Regions from separate parts of the Homo sapiens genome. Here region 1 is linked to region 2. Evidence: promoter capture Hi-C in human tissues and cell types (Jung and others, 2019). All regions are on one chromosome and are shown on one strand. Each heading gives the region's core, a stretch centred on a gene start or on the middle of the fragment in contact. The rest is flanking DNA. Distances are from core to core; before and after follow the strand shown. Region 1 overlaps PTGES3L-AARSD1 (PTGES3L-AARSD1 readthrough). Region 2 holds the start of BECN1 (beclin 1).

Region 1 (4,595 bases), core at 562-3,061, 150 kb before region 2:
TAAACCCCAGACCCTAAGAATGAGGCTCTCTATCTGGCAGGACTCCCAGGATAAGCGCTCTTCCCGCTCTATTACTTGTTTTGTGAGAAAATGGAAGGAAAAGGTGGCCTGGCCGCGGCTTACCAAGGAGGATATCAAGGTGGGTGTGTGGAAAGTGGCCTGCTTCTTCTCTCCATGTACCCAGGTTACAGCTGGGATTGTCCTTGCCTCCTTTCCAGCCAATATTCAATCACTCAACAAGTCCTGCCTAATCTTTTTTTTCCAACTGTATTAGTCTCTCTTTTTATTTTTATTTATTTATTTATTTTGAGACGGAGTTTCACTCTTGTTGCCCAGGCTGGAGTGCAGTGGCGTGATCTCAGCTCACCATGGCCTCCGCCTCCCGGGTTCAAGCAATTCTCCTGCCTCAGCCTCCTGGGTAGCTGGGATTACAGGCATGCACCACCACGCCCAGCTAATTTTGTATTTTTAGTAGAGATGGGGTTTCTCCTTGTTGCTCAGGCTGGTCTCGAACTCCCGACTTCAGGTGATCTGCCCGCCTCGGCCTCCCAAAGTGCTGGGATTACAGGCGTGAGCCACCGCGCCTGGCTTATTTTTTAACTTAAAGTTCTGGGATACATGTGCAGAACATGCAGGTTTGTTACATAGGTATACGTGTGCCATGGTGGTTTGCTGCATCTATCAACCCGTCATGCAGGTTTTAAGTCCTGCATACATTAGCTATTTGTCCTGAGTCTCTTTTTACTCTCTTGGTAATCTCTCCCAGTTAACTTACTTTCGTTGTAGGTGATGAAATGTGTAAGACTCCACTTCAGATATTGGCACTGCTATGAACATGGTCTTTCCCTTTACTGCAACTCACAATCAAAACCTTTGATTCTTTTTGTGTGTGTGTTTGTGTGAGATGGATTCTCACTCCCGTAGCACAGGCTGGAGTGCAGTGGCGCGATCTTGGCCCACTGCAACATCCACTTCCCGGGTTCAAGCGATTCTCCTTCCTCAGCCTCCTGAGTAGCTGGGATTACTGGCTTGTGCCCCCACGCCTGGCTAATTTTTGTATTTTTAGTAGAGACGGGGTTTCACCATATTGGTCAGGCTGGTCTTGAATTCCTGACCTCAGGTGGTCTACCCGCCTCAGCCTCCCAAACTGCTAGGATTACAGGCGTGAGCCAATGTGCCCAGCCATTTCTTTTTCTTTTTTCTTTCTGTTTTTTTTTTTTTTTTTTTTTTTGATTCGGAGTTTCGCTCTTGTTGCCCAGGCTGGAGTGCAATGGCATGATCGCAGCTCACTACACCTCCGCCTCCCAGATTCAAGCGATTCTCCTGCCTCAGTCTCCCGAGTAGCTGTGATTACAGGCATGTGCCACCACACCCAGCTAATTTTGTATTTTTAGTAGAGACAGTGTTTCAACATGTTGGCCAGGCTGGTCTCAAACTCCTGACCACAGGTGATCCACCTGCATCGGCCTCCTAAAGTGCTGGGATTACAGCTGTGAGCCACTGCACCCGGCCTCTGCCAATTCTTGTTTTCTATATTCCAGTCCCAGAAGTAGTTTCCACTGTAGAAATTAATTGATGAGTCTTATTCTTTCTTTTCTTTCTTTCTTTCTTTCTTTTCTTTCTTTCTCTCTCTCTCTCTCCCTCCCTTCCTCCCTCCCCCTCTCTCTCTTTCTTTCTTTTTCTTCTTTTCTTTTTTTTTTTTTTGAGACAGAGTTTCTCTCTTGTTGCCCAGGCTGGAGTGCAATGGCGCCATCTCGGCTCACTGCAACCTCCGCCTCCTGGGTTCAAGCGATTCTCCTTCATCAGCCTCCTGAGTAGCTGGGATTACAGGCGTGTGCCACCACGCCCGGCTAATTTTTGTATTTTTGTATTTTTTTTTTTTTGAGATAGAGTCTCACTCTGTCACCCAGGCTGGAGTGCAGTGGCGTGATCTCAGCTCACTGCAACCTCTGTCTCCTGGGTTCAAGTGATTCTCCTTCCTCAGCCTCCTGAGTAGCTGGGATTACAGGTGCCCACCACCATGCCCAGCTAATTTTTGTATTTTTAATAGAGACAGGGTTTCACCATGTTGGCCCGGCTGCTCTTGAACTCCTGACCTCAGGTGATCTGCTCGCCTCGGCCTCCCAAAGTGCTGGGATTACAGGTGTAAGCCACCGCACCTGGTAATTTTTTGTATTTTTAGTAGAGATGGGGTTTTGCCATGTTGACTAGGCTGGTCTCGAACTTCAGACCTCAGGTGATCTGCCTGCCTCAGCCTCCCAGGGTGCTGGAATTACAGGCATGAGCCACCACACCTAGCCCTGATGACTCTTATTCTTTCTAGTAGTGGCTTACAACCAGGCTCTACTGACCTCTTAAATATTAATGAATTCACTACTTAATTTCTTCCTAGTTCAAGCCTCACCAGCATACAGTGAGAAGTTTGTTGCATATTTTCAGTTCCATTTTCAATCCATTCTCTGCATTGCCCTCAGCATGGTCTGTCTAAAACACACATTTGACCCTGATGCTCCCCCACTTAAGGCCCTCCAAAGTCGTCTCCTCCTTAAAGGTTGAAAACTGACTGCCTGATGGCTGGATCTGGCTCTCAGATTTGTTTTAATCTTTACAGTGTCAAAAATTATTTTAAGGCCGGGTGTGGTGGCTCACGCCTGTAATCCCAGCACTGTAGGAGGCCGAGGCAGGCAGATTGCTTGAGGTCAGGAGTTGGAGACCAGCCCAGACAACATAGTGAAACGCCGTCTCTACTAAAAATACAAAAAATTAGCTGGGTGTGGTGGCGCATGTCTGTAGTCCTAGCTATTCAGGAGGCTGAGGCAGAATAATCGCTTGAACCTGGGAAGTGGAGGTTGCAGTGAGCTGAGATCGTGCCACTGCATTCCAGCCTGGGCGACAGAGCGAGACAACGTCTCAAAAAAAAAGAAATTATTTTGACTTGTTACTGACATTAAAAAATTTTTATTAGTTGCTGACATTTAAAAATGTGCATCTTCTAAAAATCCAGACTATAAGCTTCTGTTGAAAAATGGGAGGCTGAGAGAGGTGGCTCACAATCCCAGCACTTTGGGAGGCTGAGGTGGATGGATTGATTTAGGTCAGGAGTTCAAGACCAGCCTGGCCAACATGGCAAAACCCCATCTCTACTAAAAATACAAAAAATGAGCTGGGCGTGGTGGTGCGAGCCTGTAGTGCCAGCTACTCGGGAGGCTGAGGCGGGAGAATTGCTTGAACCCGGGAGGCAGAGGTTGCAGTGAGCCAAGAGCTCACCACTGCACTCCTGCCTGTGCAATAGAGTGAGACTCCATTTCAAAAAAAATAAATAAATAAAACGGGGAGCCAGGTTCGGTGGCTCGTGACTGTAATCCCAGCACTTTGGAAGGCCGAGGCAGGCAGATCACAAGGTGGGGAATTTGAGACCAGCCTGGCCGACGTGGTGAAACCCCGTCTCTACTAAAAATACGAAAGTTAGCAGAGCGCGGTAGCACGTGCCTGTAATCCCAGCTGCTCCGGAGGCTGAGGCAGGAGAATTGCTTGAACCCGGGAGGCAGAGGTTGCAGTCAGCCGAGATCACCCCACTGCACTCTAGCCTGGATGACAGAGTGAGACTCTGTCTCAGAAAGAAAAAAGAAAAAGAAAAATGAGAGAATCTAGCCCCACTGATACACATCCCCAGATGCCTAGAGTTGAAGTTTTCAGTGGATCATGTACTTCACCTCACTTGCTCCTTTTCATTACCTCCCTGACTCTCTTGGGTATTTGAGCGTTTGATTTCCTGCCCTTTAGGTTGAGATCCGTTACATAACACACTAGCACATCCCACACTCTCTGCCCCAAGCTTTATCTTCTAGCCACAGCAGACTGTTGTGTTTTGTTTGTTTTGCAAAAACCAGGCTGTTTCTCACCTCTGTACCTTTGCTCAAGGTATGCCTTCTTCCTGAAAAGTTACCATCATTACTACCTTCACCCACCCAATCCCTGTGCATCCTTCAAAGCCCTGCCACTCCAGAAACCTGGGTTCTTGTGACTCCTTTTGGGGTTCCCATGATGTCCCCTATATAACTCCACCACCACACTTTTCACACTGTATTATAGTGCTTTATTTATATCTCCCTCCCCAGCTTGCTTCCAAGTGGCTGGGACAGTGTGTTGACCTTTTTTTTTTTTTTTTTTTTTGAGACAGGATGTCGTACTGTTACTCAGGCTGGAGTACAGTGGCATAATCAAGGTTCACAGCAGCGTTGCCCTTCTGGGCTCAAGCAATCCTCTCACCTTAGCCTCTTGAGTAGGTGGAACAACAGAAGTGTGCCACCATGCCTGGCTAATTTTTGTATTTTTTGTAGAGATGGGGTTTTGCCATGTTGCCCTAGGCTGGTCTCGAACCCCTGGGCTCAAGCAATTGATGTGCCTTGGCCTCCCAAAGTGCTGTGATTATAAGTGATAGCCACTGCGCCCGGCCAGAACATTTTTATAAACCCAGTGCCAAGCTGAGAGTCTGTCCATAGTATGTGTTCAATAAATTTTTTTTTTTTTTTTTTTGAGACAGAGTCTCACTCCATCGCCCAGGTTGGAGTACAGTGGCGTGATCTCGACTCACT
Region 2 (4,916 bases), core at 1,262-3,761:
GTGACAGAGTGAGACCGTGTCTCTTTTTTTTTTTTTTTTTAAAAAAAGGCCGGGCATGGTGGCTCACACCTGTAATCCCAGCACTTTGGGAGGCCAAGGCGGGCAGATCAGGAGGTCAGGAGATTGAGACCATCCTGGCTAACATGGTGAAACCGTCTCCACTAAAAATATAAAAAATTAGCCGGGTGTAGTGGTGGGCGCCTGTAGTCCCAGCTACTCGGGAGGCTGAGACAGGAGAATGGCGTGAACCCAGGAGGCAGAGGTTGCAGTGAGCCGAGATGGCACCACTGCACTCCAGCCTGGGCAACAGAGCAAGACTCCATCTCAAAAAAAAAAAAAAAAGTAACTACAATAAGCAAATACATAGCAAAAAGTTCAGCCTTACCAGCAATCAATGATGCTAATTAAAATAACAAGGAAGTGCCATTTTTTGCTTTTGTTCCCCAAATATATGATACCCAATACTGGCCAAGGCAATATGAAAACAGGCTTCCTCATACATTACTGGAAGCAGAATATAGTTATGTGCAAGCACTTTGGAAAATGATTCCCAGTGTTAAGGAAGAGACATTAAATAGCTGACACACTCTTAATTCTGTAGTCCCAGTTATGAGTCTCTATCATAAGTAGCCAGCTCTTCATTGCAGGATTATTGTAATCACCCACAGGGGAAATAGTAGAATTTCCAGCGGTAAAAAAATACACTAAGGCAGTACATTTAGTGTAGTGTAATGTAGCCATGATAACTACAATAACTGTGTAGCAACATAGAAAAATGTTAAATTTAAAAAGCAGAAGCCTGGGCAACAAAGTGAGACCCCATCTCTTTTTTTTTTTGAGATGGCGTCTCGCTCTGTCACCGAGGCTGGAGTGCAGTGTGAGACCACATCTCTACAAAAAATTTTAAAAATTAGCTGGGCATGGTAGTGATCACCTGTGGTCCCTGCTACACTGGAGGTTGAAGCAAGAGGATTGCTTGAGCCAGGAAGTCAAATCTGCAGTGAGCCATGTTTGTTTGTTCCGCTTCACTCCAGCCTGGGTAACAGAGTAAGACACTGTCTCAAAATAAAAATAAAATAGACAATACTACATACAATTTTGGGTTAAGCAGTGGTTTCTTTTACACCAAAAGCATAAACATTGGACTTTATTGAAATGAAAAACTTTTGGCCAGGCACATTGGCTCACACCTGTAATCTCAGCACTTTGGGAGGCCACAGTGGGGGATTGCAAGGGGAGATGGGAAATGTTCTAAAACTGGATTATGGTGATAGTTGGGCAACTGTGTAAATTTACTAAAAATTATTGAACTGTACATTTAAAAAGTGTGAGTCTTATGGTATGTAAATTATACCCCATAAAGTTGTTTTTAAAAATGAAGTAAGTCCCTCTGCTCAAGACCCAGTCATCTCATCTCATTCAAAGTGAAAGCCAGAGCTTTACAATCCCTATAAGAGCCTAGGTGGTAGCTCAACACTCTTACCTCCCTCACCCCATTTTCTGTATCTCTTTTCGTTGCCCATCTTCTAGCCACACCAGCCTCTGCTAATCCCCAAACAGGTACCCTCTGTGCTCTTGCTGTTCCCTTGGCCTAGAATGCTCTTCCTTAAGATGCAGGTAAGAATTCCTTCCTCACCTTCTTCAAGCTTTTATTTGAATATCACTTTCTTTTTTTGTTGGTTTTGTGTGTGTGTGTGGGGGGGGGGGGTTTGAGATGGAGTTTCCTTCTGTCGCCCAGGCTGGAGTGCAGTGGCATGATCTCGACTCACTGCAACCTCCGCCTCCGGGGGTCAAGCGATTTTCCTACCCCAGCCTCCTGAGTAGCTGGGATTACAGGCGCACGCCACCATGCCCAGCTAATTGTATTTTTTAGTAGAGACGGGATTTAACCATTTTGGCCAGGCTGGTCTCGAACTCCTGACCTTGTGATCCGCCCGCCTCGGCCTCCCAAAGTGCTGGAATTACAAGCGTGAGCCACCATGCCCGGCCTTTTGTTGTTGCTGTTGTTGTTCTGAGATGGAGCCTTGCCCTGTCGCCCAGGCTGGAGTGCAGTGGCCCGATCTCGGCTCACTGCAACCTCCACCTCCCAGGTTCAAGCGATTCTCCTGCCTCAGCCTCCCGAGTAGCTGGGATTAAGCTGGGATTATAGGCGTGCCCCACCACGCCCGGCTAGTTTTTGTATTTTTAGTAGAGACGGGGTTTCACTGTGTTGGCCAGGCTGGTCTCGAACTCCTGACCTCACGTGATCCGCCCTCCTCGGCCTCCCCAAGTGCTGAGATTACAGGCGTGAGCCACCGCGCCCGCCGCCCCCTGAATTTAGAGAATAGCGGAGCCTCCCCATTCTCTGCGGCCTTGGCTCCTACACTTCCCGTGGTAACCTTGTTCATCCGCTGAAGCCCGCTGCTTTTCCCAGCCCGGCCTCTGGGGGCCGCTGCCGGGCCTGTGAGCCTGTGGACCAGGAGCTCCTGCTGCCGTCGTAGCGTCACGTCCGGTCTCGGGCGGAAGTTTTCCGGCGGCTACCGGGAAGTCGCTGAAGACAGAGCGATGGTAGTTCTGGAGGCCTCGCTCCGGGGCCGACCCGAGGCCACAGTGCCTCCGCGGTAGACCGGACTTGGGTGACGGGCTCCGGGCTCCCGAGGTGAAGAGCATCGGGGGCTGAGGTGGGACCTTAGAAGGGAGTCTGGGAACCCTCACGGCTCTTATTGGAGTCCCTTCCCTGACCCTGGGCTCTAAACTGCCTTTGCTCAGGCTGTCCCGGAAGCAGGTCCTCCCCGTATCATACCATTCCTAGAGGGAACGGCGCAGGTTGGGACTTCCCTCCCTTTACCATCGTCACCAAGGCATGTGGTAACCCCGGGCCGGAGGTCAAGGGCGTCGCTTCTCCCTAATGTTGCCTCTTTTCCACGGCCTCAGGGATGGAAGGGTCTAAGACGTCCAACAACAGCACCATGCAGGTGAGCTTCGTGTGCCAGCGCTGCAGCCAGCCCCTGAAACTGGACACGAGTTTCAAGATCCTGGACCGTGTCACCATCCAGGAACTCACAGGTCAGCGAGACCCTTGGAAAGAGGGTGGTCAAGAATGTGGAAGGTGGGCAGCTTTGGTGATATAATTCTTATGGTGGCTGTGTAGTCTGCCACAAACTCATCGTGTGAACCTAGGAAAGTCACTTCATCTGGCTCCCTGTTTTCTCCTTGGAAACATAAAGCATTCTGACATTGTGGACTTCTGAGAGCTTTCCGACCGGGCGCGGTGGCTCACGCCTGTAATCCCAGCATTTTGGGAGACCGAGGCGGGCAGATCACCTGAGGTCAGGAGTTCGAGACCAGCCTGGCCAACATGGCGAAACCCCTCTCTACTAAAAATACAAAAATTAGCCGGGCGTGATGGCACGTGCCTGTAGTCCCAGCTACTCGGGAGGTTGAGGCAGGAGAATCGCTTGAACCGGTGAGGTGGAGTTTGCAGTGAGCTGAGATCGCACCACTGCACTCCAGCCTGGGCAACAGAGCGAGGCTCCGTCTCAAAAAAAGAGAGCTTTCAGTAGCAAAAGAAAGATCCTTATTTTCTGCTCCTGCTGTTTCAGAGAAAAGGAATATGTATATATAATAATAAATGGTATTTTTTGAGGACTTACTATATAGTAATACCAAGTGCATTACACGTATTACTTCATTTAGTCCCTGTAACAACCCGTACGGGGTATACCGTCATTACATCATTTTTCAGATGAAGAACCGAGGCACAGAGAGGTTAAGTGACTTACCTAAGGTCCAACAGCTGGTAAATGGAGTAGAGTCTTAAAGTCTGAAGAATTTGCTGGATGTGATGGCTCACGCCTGTAATCTCAGTGCTTTGGGAGGCTGAGGTGGGAGGATCGCTTGAGCCCAGGAGTTCAAGACCAACCTGAGCAACCTAGCAGAGATCTTGTCTCTAAAAAAAAAAAAAAATTGCTGGGTGTGGTGGGTGGTGGAGGCTGAGGCAGGAGGATCACTTGAGCCCAGGAGGTCAAAGCTGCAGGAAGCTATGATCATGCCACTGCACTGCAGCTTGGGCAACAGTGCAAGACCCTGTCTCAAAAAATAAATTAATTAAAAAGGCCAGGAGTGGTGGTTCACACCTGTGATCCCAGCACTATGGGAGGCTGAGGCAGGTGGATCACTTGAGCAGGAGTTTGAGACCAGCCTGGGCAACACAGTAAGACCCTGTCTCTATAATTAAAAAAAATAAAAAACCCCAAAATCCCGCAAAGTCAGAAGAATTCAGATTAAGTCAGACAGTAAAAGAGAAGACTGAATAGGCAGCTTAAATAAGCTTATGGGCCTGGAGTCAGCCTGCTTGGGTTTAAATCCTGGCTGTCATTTACTAGCTGAACAACTTTTTGCAAGTTACTTCATTTCTCCAAGCCTTGGTTTCTGATTTTTTCTGTAAAACGTTAAACTGCCTCATAAAGAATTTATAAAGTTCAAATATGACAAACCACAGAAACACTTAGGAATTTGCTGGGCAAATAGTATTCAATAAGTATTAGCTGCTATTATTACCTGGTTTCTCTTTCTTGAGGGGAAATTAGCTCTTTTTTTTGTTTGTTTGTTTGAGACGGAGTCTCACTCTGTTGCCAGGCTGGAGTGCAGTGGCGCGATCTCGGCTCACTGCAACCTCTGCCTCCCGGGTTCAAGTGATTGTCCTGCGTCAGCCTCCTGAGTAGCTGGGACTGCAGGCACACACCGCCACGCCCAGCTAATTTTTGTATTTTTAGTAGAGACGGTTTCACTATGTTGGCCAGGATGGTCTCGATCTCTTGACCTTGTGATCTGCCCGCCTCAGCCTCCCAAAGTGCTGGGACTACAGGCGTGAGCCACCGCGCCTCTTAAACTCTTTTAATAACAATTTTTGACTTTTTATTATGGAAAATTTGAGA

Evidence for each region. Contacts are between HindIII fragments. The study calls those that stand out against the background at their distance.
Region 1: a fragment that was not itself captured here is called in contact with the fragment with the promoter of BECN1 in region 2 in 4 of the 25 tissues and cell types used here (aorta, dorsolateral prefrontal cortex, mesenchymal stem cells and 1 more).

The regions. Positions count from the first base shown.
Region 1 is chr17:42,974,714-42,979,308 of GRCh38, reverse strand. It overlaps PTGES3L-AARSD1 (PTGES3L-AARSD1 readthrough), which reads left to right. Exons shown (of 17, transcript NM_001136042.2): 4 at 41-139. It overlaps PTGES3L (prostaglandin E synthase 3 like), which reads left to right. Exons shown (of 7, transcript NM_001261430.2): 4 at 41-139. Among named protein-coding and RNA genes, the nearest start is that of PTGES3L, 3.1 kb to the left of the region's middle. RefSeq lists a silencer at 2,610-2,810. The HindIII fragment of the contact is 3,226 bases long and covers 199-3,424 here.
Region 2 is chr17:42,821,877-42,826,792 of GRCh38, reverse strand. BECN1 (beclin 1) reads left to right here and starts at 2,511. Exons shown (of 12, transcript NM_001313998.2): 1 at 2,511-2,638; 2 at 2,914-3,045. The coding sequence starts at 2,916. MIR6781 (microRNA 6781) reads left to right here and starts at 2,850; the gene lies at 2,850-2,913. RefSeq lists enhancers at 1,582-2,148, 2,153-2,282, 2,149-2,717, 2,718-3,284. The HindIII fragment of the contact is 8,869 bases long and covers 1-4,916 here.